Regions from separate parts of the Homo sapiens genome. Here all the other regions are linked to region 1. Evidence: promoter capture Hi-C in 16 types of primary human blood cells and fetal thymus (Javierre and others, 2016). All regions are on one chromosome and are shown on one strand. Each heading gives the region's core, a stretch centred on a gene start or on the middle of the fragment in contact. The rest is flanking DNA. Distances are from core to core; before and after follow the strand shown.

What was found. Contacts are between HindIII fragments. The CHiCAGO score rates a contact against its expected background, and 5 or more counts as called.
Region 2: a contact is called between a fragment that was not itself captured here and the fragment with the promoter of TAF1L in region 1, in 1 of 17 cell types (neutrophils). The highest score is 6.8, in neutrophils.
Region 3: a fragment that was not itself captured here is called in contact with the fragment with the promoter of TAF1L in region 1 in 2 of 17 cell types (M2 macrophages and M1 macrophages); the score reaches 8.5 in M2 macrophages.
Region 4: a contact is called between a fragment that was not itself captured here and the fragment with the promoter of TAF1L in region 1, in 1 of 17 cell types (M2 macrophages). The highest score is 5.5, in M2 macrophages.
Region 5: a fragment that was not itself captured here is called in contact with the fragment with the promoter of TAF1L in region 1 in 1 of 17 cell types (M2 macrophages); the score reaches 6.4 in M2 macrophages.
Region 6: a contact is called between a fragment that was not itself captured here and the fragment with the promoter of TAF1L in region 1, in 1 of 17 cell types (activated CD4 T cells). The highest score is 5.2, in activated CD4 T cells.
Region 7: a fragment that was not itself captured here is called in contact with the fragment with the promoter of TAF1L in region 1 in 1 of 17 cell types (M1 macrophages); the score reaches 5.2 in M1 macrophages.

Annotation. Positions count from the first base shown.
Region 1 is chr9:32,634,347-32,637,046 of GRCh38, reverse strand. TAF1L (TATA-box binding protein associated factor 1 like) reads left to right here and starts at 1,378. Exons shown (of 1, transcript NM_153809.2): 1 at 1,378-2,700. The coding sequence starts at 1,468. The HindIII fragment of the contact is 7,933 bases long and covers 1-2,700 here.
Region 2 is chr9:32,343,803-32,346,502 of GRCh38, reverse strand. All of the region lies in intron 1 of LOC107987059 (a long non-coding RNA gene), which reads left to right. Among named protein-coding and RNA genes, the nearest start is that of ACO1, 39 kb to the left of the region's middle. RefSeq lists an enhancer at 1,698-1,992. The HindIII fragment of the contact is 848 bases long and covers 865-1,712 here.
Region 3 is chr9:32,965,589-32,968,288 of GRCh38, reverse strand. No RefSeq gene overlaps it. Among named protein-coding and RNA genes, the nearest start is that of APTX, 35 kb to the left of the region's middle. The HindIII fragment of the contact is 4,510 bases long and covers 1-2,700 here.
Region 4 is chr9:32,918,184-32,920,883 of GRCh38, reverse strand. No RefSeq gene overlaps it. Among named protein-coding and RNA genes, the nearest start is that of APTX, 82 kb to the left of the region's middle. The HindIII fragment of the contact is 8,648 bases long and covers 1-2,700 here.
Region 5 is chr9:32,985,775-32,988,474 of GRCh38, reverse strand. APTX (aprataxin) reads left to right here. Exons shown (of 8, transcript NM_001195248.2): 3 at 346-392; 4 at 629-931; 5 at 2,445-2,504. Among named protein-coding and RNA genes, the nearest start is that of APTX, 15 kb to the left of the region's middle. The HindIII fragment of the contact is 2,055 bases long and covers 268-2,322 here.
Region 6 is chr9:32,320,272-32,322,971 of GRCh38, reverse strand. All of the region lies in intron 1 of LOC107987059 (a long non-coding RNA gene), which reads left to right. Among named protein-coding and RNA genes, the nearest start is that of ACO1, 63 kb to the left of the region's middle. The HindIII fragment of the contact is 180 bases long and covers 1,169-1,348 here.
Region 7 is chr9:32,945,520-32,948,219 of GRCh38, reverse strand. It overlaps the pseudogene ASS1P12. Among named protein-coding and RNA genes, the nearest start is that of APTX, 55 kb to the left of the region's middle. The HindIII fragment of the contact is 1,338 bases long and covers 730-2,067 here.

The sequences.
Region 1 (2,700 bases), core at 129-2,628:
AGTTAGCCTTCAGTAGCAATCAGAAAAATACAAATTAAAACCACATTATCATTATACATTTATTAGAAATGAACAAAAATTAACAAATGACAATGCTAAGTGTTAGAATGGATGTGGAGAGGTGAGAACTTTTATACACTGCTGTTAGGTATGTAAAATGGTACAACTACTTTGGAGAACAATTTAGTAATAGCAAGTGTAGTTGAAAAAGCATATATTGTAAAATCTAGTAATTCCACTCCTAGATGTATACCCTGGAGAATGTGTCCTACATATGCTCAAGGAATCATATACATTATTTATAAGAGGAACAATTTGGGAACAATTTAAATGAACAAACATAGGAACATAGATAAATTGTAGCATAACCATACTGTAGAACACTATAGAGCTATAAAAATAGAATTGAATGCATCAACATAGTTGAATATCATAAACATAAATTTTATCCAGAAAACATTCTGGCTAAGAGTACATACAGTAAGGTCGGGTTTGGTGGCTCTTGCCTGTAATCTCAGCACTTTGGGAGGCCAAAGTGGGAGGATTGCTTGAGGCCAGGAGGAGTTTAAGACCAGCTTGGCTAACATAGTGAGATCCCATCTCTTAAAAAAAAGGAAGGGGGAAAAAAAAAACGAGTACACACAGTAAGATGCCTTTTATACAAAATTGTAAAGCATGACAATGCTATAGATTATTTGGAGAAGCATACATATGCAGTTCATGTATAAAGAGATTTACAGAGGCTGGGTGCAGTGGCTCACGCCTGTAATCCCAGCACTTTCGGAGACAGAGACGGGCTGACCATCTGAGGTCAGGAGTTTAAGACTAGCCTGGCCAATATGGTGAAATCTTGTCTCCACTAAAAATACAAAAAATTAGCCAGGCATGGTGGCTCATGCCTGTAATCCCAGCTACTGTGGAGGCTGAGGCAGGAATCTCTTGAACTCCTGAGGTGGAGGTTTCAGTGAGCCGAGATTGTGCCACTGCACGCCAGCCTGGGGCGACAGAGCAAGACTTTGTCTCAAAAACCAGCAAACAGGCTGGGCGCGGTGGCTTACGCCTGTAATCCCAGCACTTTGGGAGGCCGAGGCAGGCGGTTCACGAGGTCAGGAGATCGAGAGGCTAACATGGTGAAACCCCGTCTCTACTGAAAATACAAAAAAAAAAAAATTAGCCAGGCGTGGTGGCGAGCGCCTGTAGTCCCAGCTACTCAGGAGGCTGAGGCAGGAGAATGGCGTGAACCCAGAAGGCAGAGCTTGCAGTGAGCCAAGATCGCGCCACTGCACTCCAGCCTGGGCGACGTTGCGAGACTCCGTCTCAAAAAAAAAAAAAAAAAAAAGTTTTGCGGGTTTTTCCCCCCGCCCCTTTGCCCCCTCCCCCCGCCTTTATTCAGCTTCCGGTAGACGCTGGTAGGGTAAGGGAGCTAAGTAGATCACTTCCGGGCGACTGTTGTTTTATTTCCGGTTTATGCGACCCGGCTGCGATTTGCTGCTGAGGGCAGCAGCTACCGTCACTGCCGCCATCATGTCAGACTCGGACAGCGAGGAAGATTCATCTGGAGGTGGCCCATTTACTTTAGCGGGTATCCTTTTCGGCAACATCAGTGGAGCGGGGCAGCTGGAGGGGGAAAGCGTCTTGGATGATGAGTGTAAGAAGCACTTGGCAGGCTTGGGGGCTTTGGGGCTGGGCAGCCTAATCACTGAACTCACGGCAAATGAAGAATTGACTGGGACTGGCGGTGCCTTGGTAAATGATGAAGGGTGGATTAGGAGTACAGAAGATGCTGTAGACTATTCAGACATCAATGAGGTGGCAGAAGATGAAAGCCAAAGACACCAGCAGACGATGGGGAGCTTGCAGCCCCTTTACCACTCGGATTATGATGAAGATGACTATGATGCTGATTGTGAAGACATTGATTGCAAGTTGATGCCTCCTCCACCTCCACCCCCGGGACCAATGAAGAAGGATAAGGACCAAGATGCTATTACCTGTGTGTCTGAAAGTGGAGAAGACATCATCTTGCCCTCCATCATTGCCCCTTCCTTTTTGGCCTCAGAGAAAGTGGATTTCAGTAGTTACTCTGATTCAGAATCTGAGATGGGACCTCAGGAAGCAACACAGGCAGAATCTGAGGATGGAAAGCTGACCCTTCCATTGGCTGGGATTATGCAGCATGATGCCACCAAGCTGTTGCCAAGTGTCACCGAACTTTTTCCAGAATTTCGACCTGGAAAAGTGTTACGCTTCCTACATCTTTTTGGACCAGGGAAGAATGTCCCATCTGTTTGGCGGAGTGCTCGGAGAAAGAGGAAGAAGCATCGTGAGCTGATACAGGAAGAGCAGATCCAGGAGGTGGAATGCTCAGTAGAATCAGAAGTCAGCCAGAAGTCTTTGTGGAACTATGACTATGCTCCACCACCACCCCCAGAGCAGTGTCTCGCTGATGATGAAATCACGATGATGGTTCCTGTGGAGTCCAAATTTTCCCAATCAACTGGAGATGTAGATAAAGTGACAGATACCAAACCAAGAGTGGCTGAGTGGCGTTATGGGCCTGCCCGACTGTGGTATGATATGCTGGGTGTCTCCGAAGATGGCAGTGGGTTTGACTATGGCTTCAAACTGAGAAAGACACAACATGAACCTGTGATAAAATCTAGAATGATGGAGGAATTTAGGAAACTTGAGGAAAGCAAT
Region 2 (2,700 bases), core at 39-2,538, 290 kb after region 1:
CTTGGGGAGGCCGAGGCGGGCGGATCACGAGGTCAGGAGATCAAGACCATCCTGGCCAACATGGTGAAACCTCATTTCTCCTAAAAATACACACAAAAAATTAGCCAGGTGTAGTGGCGGGCACCTGTAGTCCCAGCTACCCAGGAGGCTGAAGCAGGAGAATTGCTTGAACCTGGGAGGCAGAGGCTGCAGTGAGCCGAGATCACGCCATTACACTCCAGCCTGGGCGACAGAGCAAGACTCCGTCTCAAAAAAAAAATGTACAAAATATTATTAATATAGTAGTTTTTATTAAGTAAAAATACCAGTTACAAATTCATTCTCATAATCTAAAACACACAACACGCACGCATTGGGAAAGGAGGAATTGCACTAAAATCTTAACAGTGATTACTTTGGGAAAGTGAATCAGCACTACTTTATTTTTTTTCCTATGCTTGTCTGTATTTCGACAGTGAGCATAAGCCAATTTTGTAGTAAGAAACACATTATTCTTTAAAAAGCTGAAAGAGTCAGTCCCAGCAAGGTCTATCTTCTGTCCTCTTTCCCAAACCTCCCAAAATGTAGATGCAACAAGATTCAACATCAGTTATTGTTCTCACCCCTCTGTAAATGTAGATTTATTCTAGGTGGGGGCTTTGATAGTCATCCTACTGGTGCCTTCCTGCCCAGAGAGGAGTGCTTGCATTCTGGGTGAAAGGCCAAAGGAAGTTATTTTATCCTGGTTTGTCACTATGCTTTAAGAAGGCACCTGACGTTTATAACAAAAGACTTTATCTGCTCGTAAGTGTGCTGAATAAAGGAGCCAGAATTTCAGGCACACCTGGATCTGTCATGACTTTACAATATCTGCAATAGGAAGCTTAATTATTTGGATGGCCGTCTTTTTGCATATGGTTTATTAATCTGTGGGCATCGTCGTAAAAATGATGATGCATTTTTTAGCTGAGGCAACCAGAGGCTGGCTTAGTGGAGCAGCTGGTCTAGACTGGAAAGAGTCCCTCTCCAACTGGGTATGCATATGAACCACCTGCGGGTAGCTGGGAGTGCCTGAAAGCAAGCATTTATCAGTGGAGCGGTGCTTTCCCTGGGCTCTGTTTGGAAACAGGAAATGTCATGTTGTGTTTCCATTGCCTCTCTGCTAGAATCCAATGATCAGCATTGTAGGATGTACTGGGATCTGGGTAGTTTCTGGTGGTGATAATGGTTTTAAGGAGCAGGAATGAAGATGGGGTTTGAGAAGGAGGAGGGTAGTGATGGGGTATCCAGTTAGGTTGCCGCAGTCCGGTTGGAAATTGACAGAAACAAAGAAAGAACTTAGATGTCAGTGCCTGTGAATTGCTGTCCATATCAACTTAAGCACTACCTCATATTTTGATCTGCTTTGGCACATTTAGATTTGGGGCAGGGATTTAGCCTTGTCCATGTTGCCAGAGGCTGTGTATGTAATAGAGGCATCACATGCAGTGACAGGTTTGCAGAAAAAGCAACCTTCACTGATACGAGAGATCAAACGAGAGCATTTCCATTGAAAAGTGCAGCACTGGTTTTCTTCCCCTCCACCCCACCGCCCTCAGTGGTAACACTGCTACTCAGAGGCATGTTCAGTGGCTGTCCAAGTGTGGACAATACCTGTGATGCCGATGGATGTTGGACCTAATGTCCCAGGTATCCCGGTTCTTAGGTGGAGAGGCAGCCTGTGGGAGGAAGCTTCCTGAGCAGGGGGCCTCCAGGACTGGGATGCAGAATGCTGACTATTTCCTGAATACAGAGCTTGAATGCAGGCTCCCCAGGTTGTTCCAGCCTTGGGCAAGACTCTGATCCTTTGTCAGAAAGTGAAACTGAAAGCTAAAGCGCAGGGGTTATTCACACCCTTTATTCTTCATTCTTCTGGCTATTGCCAGCTCATCTGAAGGCTTCCAGAAGGCAGAAGGCAGATGAGGGAGGAGAGGAAAGTCGGTGCGTGATTTCCCCTCCTTTTTTGTTAGTGACTCTGTTAAAAGGTATTGTGGTGAAGAAACTAAAAGTAGGAATAAAAAATGTTTAATAATTTGGGGTTTCAAATGATCTTTCTACTTACATTTCTTCTATGACTTATTGCCCTTACCAGTGAACCCCTTTGGATATGTGAGGGACAGGGCCTTTTGCATTGAGTTATATATTTGGTGTGGGAAATTTGAATTAATCTGTTTTCATGTTCAATTAGATTGATGAGCAGTATGGCCACTCAATGTTATTCCATCTTGACTGTTGCTGAGGCCCTTTAAATGTGTCATGAGTTAATTGATTGATAAATCCACATAAAACATTCTGTGTGCCTGCTATGCACCAAACCTGGAGCAGAGATTCAGGTGACCCAGCCAAGTGCAGTTCTGCTTTCATGGAATTTAATCTAATTATAGGGACAGAAAATTAAGCAAACAATTAGGATACAATGTAGTAAGTGCTCTGCTAAGGAAAGTCCCACGTAGAGCACGTAGCAGGGTCCTTGATAGGATCAAGGAAGATATTCTGGAGAAACTGACTTGTGAATCAAGACCTGAAGATAACGTGAAGGTAACAAAGAGAAAGGAGAGACTCGTGTTCCAAGTAGGGGGACCAGCCTGAGCAACACCCCATAATCCCCTTCTACTGTGCATATCTATTTAGAAAGTCATAAGTGACAATGCACTTATGAATTATAAAAATCAAGTTAGAAGA
Region 3 (2,700 bases), core at 79-2,578, 330 kb before region 1:
CAGCACTTTGGGAGGCTGAGGCTGGCGGATCATTTGAGGTCAGGAGTTCGAGAACAGCCTAGCCCCTAGCCAACATGGCAAAACCCTGTCTCCACCAAAAATACAAAAATTAGCCAGGTGTGGTGGCACGCGCCTGTAATCCCAGCTACTTGGCTGGCTGAGGCACGAGAATCGCTTCAACCCAGGAGGCAGAGATTGCTGTGAGCTGAGATCGTGCCATTGCACTCCAGCCTGGGTGACAGATCAAGACTGTGTCTCAACAAACAAACCCCAAAAAACATTCTTTCTATTAAAAAAAATAATAAGTTGGCTAGAGCCAAGGTTGAAGCCTGATTCTGGCAATCATGAAATGGGTCTTGGGGCATGTCAATGCATGGTAGGCATTGAAAATATGCTGGCAAATTTTCTTAATTTGACCCCAAGTTAGTGACTGTTGTTCACATCACAAGAATACCTGGGAGTAGCACTGGTAGCAGACACTTCTTTTGGGCATATTCTTCAAAAATGGCATCATTTTTACATCGACAATTGCTAAGTCGCTGGTGGTCAAATATTAGAGGAAGCACTGTCAAAGCAGGACGGTCAATATACAGAGAAGGTAAAGGGCTGTGTCTGCATTTTCCATGGGCCAGCTTCCCCGCAAACCTCCTTTTGATAGAAGAACCTAGCTTCATCTGTCTTCCATCTCTTCCAAGCCTTCTGTCTTTTAAGCAGGCAGAATAAAAGCTCCAATGCCAAAGAGTACAAGAATATTAAAATTGAAAAGGACTTTATGTACCAGGGGTCCTGACATTTTGAGGGAGTCATAGATCCAAAATTTGGTGAAGATGATAGCCCCTTTCCCATATGTTTTGCATGTAATTTCAAGGGAAGCACCCCAAAAATCAATAATCCATGGATTTTCTAGGGCAGGTCTTCTCAGCTGGTGTGCGTGTGTGTGTGTGTGTGTGTGTGTGTGTGTGTGTGTGTGTGTGTGTGTGTATCCCCTAGATTCTAATTATTTTGAACCAACTGGCAGTCCTTTTTTCCAAACTACACACAGAAAGTCACTCTGCTACCACTGGGCATCTAATCTCTCTGGTGCTTTGGGGCAAAGTTTAATCTCTTGCCTGGAGAATCTATCAGAACTCTTTATTCTAGTAGCCTCTGATGTTCCATTGAGGGATTTGAAACATAGAAGTGACTTATAATATCAGCAACCAACTTATGTCCTAATTAAACATCAAGAGTGCTTGCATTCCCAAATTCATGCTGGGAGAGAATATACTAAAACGTTAATTAGCGGTCCTCTCTTGGTGGTAAGAATGTGGATAATTTAAATTGTGTTATATTGTTGTGCACGCTTCTAAATTAGCTACAGTGAATACATATTTGGGAGTGTGAAAAAAGCCTCAAATTTTATTTTTAAAAAGTGATAGGTCACAAAGGAATGTAATCAACATTCAATTATTTATATTAATAGCTGATACAACAAAAAGTGGCTAATTTTTTTTTTTTTTTTACAAATAATGCCAGTTCCATTCGAGTGTTCTGTGGCCCTCCAGAGACAGGCATCCTGCAAGGCCAGATTTCAAGACCAAATTTGCTTGAGTCTGAGAATGACACACGTGAAGGTAATTCATTTGATCTGATGGATCTGATATTCCTAACACTAGATCTAGAAAAATAGTGGCTTTTTCTCTGTTTGCCCCTAACCTCAATGTCTGCGAGACACCAACTACATTTTAGTTATTCAAAATTGCTGTCCATAGCAACTTTCTGTTTGTACTTACAAATGCCTTTCACCACCCATTGAGATCCCATGATTTCCCTTGTAAATTATGTTGATATGAAATGTTACATTTGGTTTCCAAATACTGAACCACCTTGAATTCTGGGGGTGAATCCTCTTGGTTCCCTAGGGCTTCTCTTTCAGTATTGACTTTGACTCTGAAACATTCGTGATGGGATGGGTTTGGGGAATAAGATTTATAGATTGATTTATGTATTTGGCCTGGTCCCCAGATTTTAACAAAAGTATCAGGAAAAGGGGAAGAAAAGATGGAAAATGAGAAGAATGGTTAGAATTTTGGCTTGTTGGATCAGTTCCCAGAACATCCTTTGTGTTAGAGAAATCAAGTAATGGGAGAAGTGGAAAGAAAACAAAAAAGTTAGTGAAGCTAAACCAATCTACATAGTGAAGACAGAAGGGGGTGAAGGACTGAAAAAGATAGGTGAATATTTGGGGCAGACTTTGAGGCATCTGGGAAGTGGGAGCTTTGGAGGGCTCTGGGAGATTTGGGGAAAAGAAGGGGATTTGAAGAAGGGTTGGTCTCTCTGGGTATAAATGAGTCCCTTTTAATATATTTTTGAGAGACAAACAAAGATTATATACTTGATTAATTTTTTTTTCTTTTTTTGGTAGAGACAGGGTCTCACCATGTTGCCCAGGCTGATCTTGAACTCCTGGCCTCAAGGGATCCTCCCATCAGCCTTCCAAAGTGTTGGGATTATAGGCATAAGCCACTGCACCTGGCCTTTTTGGCCACATTTTGACTTCTGTTGTTCCTATTCCAATTTCTCATTTCTTGCATTTTGTATTTCTTCTTTTTTTCTTGATAATATTTGCTAGATGTCTGCTTATAAAACGCTGTTTTTTAGAAAAGTAGGTTTTCTTTATAACTCTTATTTTTGCCTTTTCTTTTGCTTTAAAAAAAAACT
Region 4 (2,700 bases), core at 172-2,671, 280 kb before region 1:
GCTCCCACTTATAAGTGAGAACATGGAGTATTTGATTTTCTGTTCCTGCGTTAGTTTGCTTAGGATAATGGCCTCCAGGTGTATCCATGTTGCTGCAACGGACATGACTTCATTGTAATTTACGGCTGTATAGTATTCCATGATGTATATGTACCACATTTTTCTTTTATCCAGTCGACTGTAGGTGGGCACCTAGTTTGATTTTATGTCTTTGCTATTCTGTATAGTGCGGCAATGAATATATGAGTGCATGTGTCTTTTTGGTGGAATGACTTATATTCCTTTGGGTATATAACCAGTAATGGGATTGCTGGGTTGAATGGAAATTCTGTTTTCTCTTCTTTGAGAAATCCCCAAACTGTTTTTCACAGTGGCTGAACTAGTTTACATTCCCACCACCAGTGGATAAGCAGTCCCTTTTTTCCAAAATCTTGCCAACATCTGTTATTAACAAAACCAATTTTACCATAGGCTAATTGATATAAACAAGAGTCAAGTTCCTATGACATATTTCTGGTCACAGAAACATCACCAAACTTCTAAATAAAGACTCCAAACACTTTTAATATTACACATTGAAATATGAAAGTGGACCGTACATATACTTAAGAAAAATTAGCCGGCCAGGTGTGGTGGCTCACGCCTGTAATCCCAGCACTTTGGGAGGCCGAGGTGGGTGGATCACAGGGTCAGGAGTTCGAGACCAGCCTGGCCAACATGGTGAAACCCTGTCTCTACTAAAAATACAAAAATTAGCTGGGCGTAGTGGCAGCACCTCTAATCCCAGCTACTCGGGAGCCTGAGGCAGGAGAATCGTTGGAACCCGGGATGCGGCAGTTGCAGTGAGCTGAGATTGCGCCACTGCTCTCCAGCCTGGGTGACAGAGCAAGACTCCATCTCAAAAAAAAAAAAAAAAAAAAAAAGAAAAAAAAAAGAAAAATTAATGAAAGCAAGTCAGATAACTACCCGCTTATTCCAGTTCAGGGTGCAGGTGGCCAGAGCCTCTCCCTGCAGCTCTGAGTGCCAGGTGGGAAGCAACCCTGGAGTTCGACATCCCATCGCAAGGCAAACTCACAAGCACCCACGCTGACTCACACTGGGACCAGTTAGACACCCGATTTACCTAACGTGTACAGCTTTGGGATGTGGGAGAAAGCCAGAGTACCCTACGAAAACCCACGCAGACATGGGGAGAGGCGGGCAGATCACCTGAGGTCAGGAGTTCGAGATCAGCCTGGGCAACATGGTAAAACCCCATCTCTACTAAAAATACAAAAATTAGACCGGGTGTAGTGGCTCATGCCTGTAGTCCCAGCACTTTGGGAGGCCAAGGTGGGTGTATCGCTTGAGGTCAGGAGCTCGTGACCAGCCTGGCCAACATGGTGAAACCCCGTCTCTACTAAAAATACAAAAAAAAAAAAAAAATAGCTGGGCGTGGTGGCGGGCCCCTGTAATCCCAGCTACTAGGGAGGCTGAGGTAAGAGACTCACTTGAACCGGGGAGGTGGAGGTTGCAGTGAGCCGAGATTGCGCCATTGCACTCCAGCCTGGCGACGGAGAGAAACTCCATCTCAAAAAAAAAAAAAAAAAAAAAAAATTAGCCAGATGAGGTGGCATATACCTGTAGTCCCAGCTACTTGAGAGGCTGAGGTAGGAGAATCACTTGAACCTGGGAGGCAGAGGTTGCAATGAACTAAGATTGCACCACTGCACTCCAGCCTGGGTGACAGAGCGAGACTCCCGTCTCCAAAAACAAAAAGAAAAGAAAAATTTTTTTGAAATAGCTTAATCAGATATTTAAAATTATAGAATTATAAAAGAGATTATAGGCCATGATTACACTGTGCCCAAATGTTGTTGTTGGAAAATCAGTTTCTTGTGACACGACCAGGATAATTTAGGCACATGGACACGTTGTAGGGTGTGTAGGGCAGGGTTCATTGGGTGAAAAGGAAGAAAAAAAGGGAAACAGGGACTCTCAGCAAAGTGAGAATCCTGCTAGATTGAATCCCCAGTTACCACATGGGAACAGGAGCGGCCAGGCTCCTCCCCCTGCAAACCGCTCAAACTTCCTGAGGCCCCACCCCGTCCTCCCAGTGCACAGGTGGGTTGGAGATTCTCCAGGGAGCCCTTTTTACTTGGCTCTCTCAATATCCTATAAACTCCATGAGAAGTGTTGCACCAGTATTCTCCTTATGTAAAGAAAGCAAAGACTGATATGGGAGGTATCCTCTACCACAAATACTAAAACTTTTTTTTTGTTTTTAAATAATTTTAGATTTACAGAAGAGTTGTAGAGATGGTACAGAGTTTTCATATACCCTTCACCCAGCTTCACCTTATGTTAACATCTTATGTAACGATGGTACATTGTCAAAACTGGGATATAATATCATCAACTAACATACAGAACATATTCATATTTTACCAGTTTTTCCACTAATGTCTTTTCTTTGTTCCAGGATCCAATCCAGTATACCATGTTGCATTTAGCCATAAAAGTTTTTAATTAGGAGAACAAAAGGAATATCAGCTGTTAGGTCGCAGAGAATATTTGTCAGTGGATGCGTAGGGATGTTGGTCAGAGCGAGTTTAAAAATCCTCTTTTTGACACTGGTGTCCGATGCAGTTCTTCCCAACTGTGAGAATGCCTTTTTTGGCATGATGTGGGCTGTCCAAGGAGCCCCAAGTTATTGAAGAC
Region 5 (2,700 bases), core at 46-2,545, 350 kb before region 1:
CAGGTCTTCTTTTCTGGCGGCAGAGTCTGTGATCATGAGCAGGCCAGGGGTTCTGGAATAGGGAAACTTGTGGGGATTAATTGAAGCTGCCTCATAGGGATCTTGGCAATAGCTAAGGGAGTATGTACGCTGTTGGACATTTTATGGAAGGATTTAAACCTTTAGAAATTGGTAGGATTTGGAGCTCCAGCCACCTGCAATAACAGGTGATTGCTAATAGGCCTTTAAGGAAACACCACCTGTTCAGCTGCCGCCTGTAGTGAAGCTTGTTTTCTTTAGGGAAGATAGGAGCAAGTGCCTGGTTCTTTGTTGCATTTGTGTTTAACTTTTTCCAATCTCTTTCAGTACAGTTGAAAGCAGAGTGTAACAAGGGATATGTCAAGGTAAAGCAGGTAGGTGTATTTATAACTTGGAATTTTATACTCGATGATTTTCTTATGCTGTTGACTTTAGAGTGTCTGTGCCAGCCAGTGAAGGCTTCTCTGTCATGTATGGAAGTGATGGAGTAATATAGGTGAACATAAGGCAAGGTGCTTGGCATATAGTAAGTGGTTAACATAGCAGTGGCTATCTTACTGTAGGTGCTGTTGCTATTATTATAATTATTTTCTGATTGTTTATTCCATAGGTAGGAGTCAATCCCACCAGCATTGACTCAGTCGTAATTGGGAAGGACCAAGAGGTGAAGCTGCAGCCTGGCCAGGTTCTCCACATGGTGAATGAACTTTATCCATATATTGTAGAGTTTGAGGAAGAGGCAAAGAACCCTGGCCTGGAAACACACAGGAAGAGAAAGAGATCAGGCAACAGTGATTCTATAGAAAGGGATGCTGCTCAGGAAGCTGAGGCTGGGACAGGGCTGGAACCTGGGAGCAACTCTGGCCAATGCTCTGTGCCCCTAAAGAAGGGAAAAGATGCACCTATCAAAAAGGTGAGGGTAGTGTGATTGGTAGATGATGTGGAGAAGAAATGAAATATAATGACTGCTTAATTGTTTTGTACACTTTAAAGTTCAGAAATGCGTGAGGGGTTATTAACCATGATGAAAGAGTCACTTGTTTGTGGCGTGAAAATCATTTGGATGAATGTTCCTTTATGTGCTTTTTTCTTAAATTCCTGAGGTAAGCCACCTGAAGGTACAACAATAATGGCAGTGTGTACTTAACATTGAACAACTAAAGTGGATCAGTTGTTTATGCATCTATAGAAGGTTTTCATAGATCATGTAATTCATATGCTGATGTCAAAGTGGAGAATTGGTCAGGCTGTAGCTGCAGTGAGAGAGGGCAAAGAAGGTATGACTCATACTCTGGCATTTCTCGCCTTCATTTAGAACAGCCAGCTGTGAATATAGGAAGGCTGGCTGGGTGCAGTGGTTCACGCCTGTAATCTCAGCGCTTTGGGAGGCCGAGGTGGGCAGATCACTTGAGGGTCAGGAGTTTGAGACCTGCCTGGCAAACATTGTGAAACTCCATGTCTACTAAAAATACAAAAATTAGCTGGGCCTGGTGGTACACACATGCTTGTAATCCCAGCTACTCGGGAGGCTGAGGCGGGAGGATTGCTTGAACCTGGAAGGCGGAGGTTGCAGTGAGCTGAGATTGCACCACTGCACTCCAGCCTGGGCGACAGAGCGAGACTCCATCTCAAAAAACAACAACAATAATAAAAAACAGCTGGGTGTGCTGGCTCACGCCTGTAATCCCAGCACTTTGGGAGGCCGAGATGGGCAGATCACCTGAGGTCAGGAGTTCGAGACCAGCCTGACCAACATGGCAAAACCTAATCTCTACTAAAAATACAAAATTAGCTGGGCGTGGTGGTGCATGCCTATAATCCCAGCAACTCCAGAGGCTGGGCAGGAGCATCGCTTGAACCCGGGAGGCAGAGGTTGCAGTGAGCCGAGATCACGCCATTGTACTCCAGCCTGGGCAACAAGAGCGAAACCCCATCTCAAAAAAAAAAAGAAAGAATATAGGGTCGGGTGTGGTGGCTCACGCCTGTAATCCCAGCACTTGGGGAGGTGGAGGCCAGTGGATCACCTGAGGTGAGGAGTTCAAGACCAGCATGGCCAACCTGGTGAAACTCCGTCTCTACTAAAAAATACAAAAGTTAGCTGGGCGTGGTGGTGGGCACCTGTAATCCCAGCTACTTGGGAGGCTGAGGCAGGAGAATCACTTCGGAGGTTGCAGTGATCACGCCGCTGCACTCCAGCTTGGGTGAGACAGAGTGAGACTTTGTCTCAAAAAAAAAGAGAATATAGGAAGGCAATGGAGTGAAGCAGAGTCAAGTGAATCTTGTTTAATTCTCAAAAACTAAGCTTATTTCCAAGTTTAGTTGTGCTATCACACAGTATTAACTGTTGCCAAATTTAATTATTGGCATTTGTAATTTACATTGCTTGTTTTTTTTTTTTTTTGTTTTTTTTTTTGTTTTTTTTTTAGGAATCCCTGGGCCACTGGAGTCAAGGCTTGAAGATTTCTATGCAGGACCCCAAAATGCAGGTCAGAATACAATTTTGGAATTTCAGTACATTTCATGTTGTAAATGACCACTCCACAGAGGTCTTAATTACAAATGAAATCAAAGGATATCAGTCTTTCTGAATGAGATTCATTTTATTGGGCTGTTCTGTGAGAACAAGAGGCTTTTCACATTGGCAATAAAGTAGCAGCTGTCATTGTTTGGAGAGAAAGCTGA
Region 6 (2,700 bases), core at 9-2,508, 310 kb after region 1:
GCAGGTGCACAGCTTTTGTTGCTTCTGCCCTTCCTCTCGCCCTCTCTATATCCCTTCCCTATGCTACTCCGGCCTTCCTGGTCTGCTTCTCCTAGAGCTATGAATACGCAGGCTTCCCCCAACCTACCCCTTTCTTTTCCCAGGCATGCTTAGTCCAGCGCTTCGTGGGCAACAGAGATGCATATGGAAAACCCATGGGGACACGCTTGCTTCACCAAATAAGGGTATTTCCCTTTTCCTTGGAAAAAAGAATGAACAAATGATGGTTGTTAAGTAAACATTACTAAAATCTGTGCCCTTTCCCAGAAGTATATCGTGCATATTTATTTTAATAAGGCAAGAGAACAAATAACAGTTTCTAGAGGCAAGGGAAACAGCTGATTTACTGTCCTCCTTTTAGAACATAGCTCAAGAGACTGGGTTTTGTTTTTGTTTTTGCATAAGTAATCTTAGATCCATCCTCTATATTTCTACTGCTCCCCCTGGGCCTTTGTTATGACTTCATCATTTCCTGACTGGCTGACTGGTACTGTGTTATAACCACCCTTTCCCTCCACACTTCCATCAGAGTTGCCCTCTTATAACTCACATGTGATTATTGCACTCTACTGCTTAGAACCTGTCAATGGGTCCCACTGTCCAGATTACAGTGTCTATATTTCCCTTATAATCAGCCCTGCCTATTTCTCAGAGTATCTTTCTCCACTAATTTTTCCTCACAGTGCACCTAAGCCAGCAGTTCTCAGCTTCAACATCACCTGCCAACTTTTTAGAAAATCAGATTTGTGGGCCCACTTCAGACCTATTCAATATGAAACTCTGGGGATGAGGCCCAGTAATCTGTGCTTTAATAAACTCTCCAAGTGACTTTGATGCATGCTAAATTTGAGAGCCACTCACCAAAGTGAAGCAGGTGCAGTGTATGCAGTTTGAATTGCCCTTAATCCCCTAATGCACCTAGAATTTCCTACTCATCCTTCAAAAGTCATCACCTCTTTCATGAAGCCTTCTCTGCCTTCATCTAACAGTGTTTACCATTCCCTGCTTGGTATCTCCAGGACACTTCCATTGTGAAGTGTAAAACACTGTTTTGCAATTCTTGCAAACTTACTTGTCCATCTCCCTGACTAGACTATGAGATGCTCATGGGAAATACTCTCTAAAAGCTTGTTTTAACTTTCTCTTTCCTGTTGGTCTCTCTCTGTCTTCATGCACACATGTATACGGCTTCCATAAAGAAGACTGCAGAATAGAATAGGGAACCACTGTTTAAAGTTCATTGCCCTTTCCACCAATTGGGATCTCATTCTGGCTGCCTTTTTTCCCTTTATATCTTATTCAATAAGCTTTTATTTAATTTTAACTTTTTTGTTAGTTTTTAAACTTTAAACTTTTTTATTTCTAATTTTTATGGGTACATAGTAGATGTATATACTTATGGGGTACATGAGCTAGTTTGATACGGGCACAAAATGTGTAATAATCACACCAGGGTAAATGAAGTATTCATTATGTCAAGAATTTATTTCTTTGTGTTACAAACAATCCAGTTATATGCTTAGTTATTTTAAAATGTACAATAAATTATTGTTGATTGTAGTCATCCTGTTGTGCTGTGAAATACTAGATCTTATTCATTCTATCTAACTACATTTTTGTACCCATTAACCATCCTCACTGTCCCCCTACCCTCTACCAGCTACCCTCCCAGCCTCTGGTAACCATCATTCTGCTCTCTACCTCCATGAATTCAACTGTTTTAATTTTTAGCTCCCACAAATGAGTGAGAACATGCGAAGTTTGTCTTTCTGTCCTGGCTGCCTCTTTTTGTCTGTCATCACAAGGTGTGTAACTGACTTTGCCCCAGGTATTAAGAAACAGATACAGTCACCTCTCAAAAAAGGGGGCCAGTTATCAGAAACAGGTCAGTTCCTGGCACTATCGATGAGTAATTCTGTTTGCTTTATGACCCTGACTCTCCTTTAAAAATGAATCAGTTGAAGCTGTAGTTGATTATGCTTTCTTTTCGGTCTTAGACCTACAAAGACTTTTTACTGACTTAGTAAATAAAAGCTAAGCCACTTAAAGAAACCTTGAAGTTGTCTGTTTAGGGGCATTAGTCTGTGTTATCATCTAGGGACAAACCTGTGACTCTCTTCTCTCTGTGTTATAAGAGTTGGTTTTGGGCTAGAGAGAACTCCGTTGTGAACTCAGAAGACGAGGTGGGGGTCCCGGGAGAGTCAGGGCAGGTAAGGGAGAGACGACCCTGATTTTATCCTCCTCTAATAGTGACTCCATAGCTATACAGATATTGGATAGTGCCCTTCAGTGTTGATAACTGGGAGGGAGATTTGCTGACTCTATCTGGAAAGAGAGCAGTTGGGAAGATGTCCTGATTGGCTAGTAGGCCAAGTTCTATAATATTTCCTTTATCTAGATATCCCCAGTGGCTAGGACAGTGCCTACTATGCCGTCAATTCTAAATACATTGTGGTTGAGCTTTTACAATTATAAATTCCAGGGTTTGTGGGCACTATACTACATAAAATCATTTACCTTTTTCTTGCAGCTTGAATTGGGCCATACACTTTTTTGAAAAGTCTTAATTTAAAAAGATAGAAGCAAGCAGCCCACAGCTGCATTGGTTTTTCTCTAGGTTAGAAGCTTTCCTATAAACCATTTGATGAAGTAGCAGATGGC
Region 7 (2,700 bases), core at 149-2,648, 310 kb before region 1:
ATGTAACCTTACACTTATTAATACAGATGCAAAAATTCTAAATAAAGTATTAATAAAAATCAAGTTATATAATAATAATATACTGCTATAGAGTATTTTAATTATGCCCTATTCTATATATTTCAGGTGTACAGGCTGGTTCACTATCAAGACATCTATTACCGTTAGTAATGAATTATGATAATACTATAAAGGAAAAACCATATGATCCTGTCAATATACACTGGAGGAACATTTTATAAAATTTAATAGCCATTCCTAATAAAAATTCTAAGCCAATAGGGTGTGATGACTTTTCTATTAAAAACAAGTCTAAGTAACAATACAAGGAAACTACTTATCTAGGATAAGGACTGTATCTCTAAACCCAATAGCAAACATTGTTCTAAATAGCAAAACTCTGAAATCATTTCATTGAAATCAGAAATTAGAAAAGGATGTCCATGTGCTATTATTATGTTACATTGTCAAAGTAAGGTAAGAAAATAATTGCCATAAACTTTGAAGAAGACGAAATAAAACTATTTATGTTTGTCTATGTGACTTCATTGTTTGCCTAGAAAACTCGAGGGACTTTAGTAATAAACTATTTGAATTGTAGGTCATTTTGGAAAAGTGGGCAGATGCAAGATAAATATACAAAAAGCACCAACTTCTCTCCGTATTAGCAGTAAGTACTTTGAAAGGAAATTAGAAAACTATTTTATTTTCTACAGTTTTATACAAGCTTAAAATACTTAGGAGTGTAATTTAAAAAAATCTTTTAATTGTCATTTTATAGCTCCCCACCGCAGCTGCCCCCACCCTTCCCTTCGATGACGACGTTTGCAGGGTTCAGGGCGACCAGGGAACAAAGCTGGGGCCTGGCAGACCCACTATGCTGCCAGCTGGAGAAAACAAGTCACAATGACAAATTATCACAATTAGCACCTGTACTTGGGGGAAAAAATCTGCAAATTGGGGAAGCCCCAGCTCCTCATTGTACAGGGGTCTGTTTGGCAGTGACCTTGCTCTGGAGATGACATTCCTTCAGCCTGAGGGAATCGACGTTGATGAACCCGTGGCATCAATCGGCTCATAATCCCCCTGCACGTTCATGCTCACCAGCTCCTCGTTGTAGAGAGACAGTGGGGACTCCCGACCGAGGATATACACCTGGCCCTTGAGGACAGACACCTGCACTTTCCCTTCCACTCATTCCTGGGACTTGGCATTACAGTGGCGGACAAATTCACACTCAGGGCTATGCCAGAAACCGGTATACACCAGCTCAGCAAATTTCAAGCTCAGGCCTTGTTTGATTTTGCGCACTTCTCGGTACATGGTGAAGGCCTTGATGTCTAAATGAGTGTGGTGAAGGATGGTCCCTGCTGGGGCCTCGCAGATACCTCAGGACTTCATTCCAATGAAGCGGTTCTCCACGATGTCAATACGGCCCACGCCGTGCTTGCCTGCAACTTCATTCAGGTACACGAAAAGCTCCAAGGAGGTCTGGTGGGTGGTGCCATCCTTGACGTTGGTCACCTTCACGGGGACCCCTTTTTTGAACTTGATCTCGAGAATGTCAGGGGTGTTGAGGGCTTTGGCTGGGTCCTGGGTCTTCATGTAGAGACCTGGAGGCACTTGGTTCTTGGGGTTCCAGGATTCCAGCCTCATAGCTGATGTGCATGAGGTTCTCGTCTATGCTTCACGGGCTCTGGGGAGTGACTGGAATGGGAACCCGATGTTGCTTTGCCTATTTCATCAGGTCATTGCAGCCCTTGAACCGGTTGTAGAACTCGGGCATCCTCCAGGGAGCGGTGACCTTTATCTGGGGGGCCAGCAAATAGCAGGTGAGCTCAAACCGGACCTGATCATTTCCTTTTCCCGTGGTGCCGTGGAACACATACTTGGCCTCCTCCTGCTTGGCGATTTCCACTTGTTTGCCGGCGATGCCGGGCCTGGCCAGAGAGGTGCCCAGGAGGTAGCGGTTCTCATACAGTGCGCTGGACTGGATGGCCGGCCAGATGAACTCCTCCACAAACTCCCTGCTGGCATCCTCAATGAACACCTTTTTGGTCCCAAGCTTCAGTGCCTTCTTCCAGGCTTCCTCGAAGTCTTCCTTCTGGCCAGTGTTGGCCAGGTAGGCAATGATGTCATAGCCTTGTTCCTTCAGCCACACGAGGATGCAAGAGGTGTCCGGGCTGCCACTGTAGGCCAGAACCACTGAGCCTTTGCTGGACATAGCATCTGGGATTGGAGGCTCGAGTTCCTGGCATCTGCCATCTGTCTTCATGGTACGGTGAACCACTCGGGCTCAGGGAGCGGTGGCAGGCGACAGAGCAGGGAGTATAATTTCAAAATACCAAACCATCCACAAAAACCCAGAGAATAGTACCCATAACCAGCTTCAACAATCGTCAATATTCTGCCCTTCTTGTTTCATCCTGCCTCTCCACCTTACCTACTGTAGTACTACTTTAAAGCAAATTTCAGAAATCAAAATAGTTTCACCTTGACAGTAAAATTAATAAGATATAAGACCTATTTAAAGTTATAAAAGCTCAATTAAAATTATAAATGTTATCTGAACAAATGGAAAGACATCTCATGTTCTTTAATGACTTGGAAACATAAAATCTATTTAAAGATTTTTAAAAATTTATTTATTTATTTATTTTCAGAGACAGGGTCTTGCTCTGTTGCCCAGGCTGGAGTGCA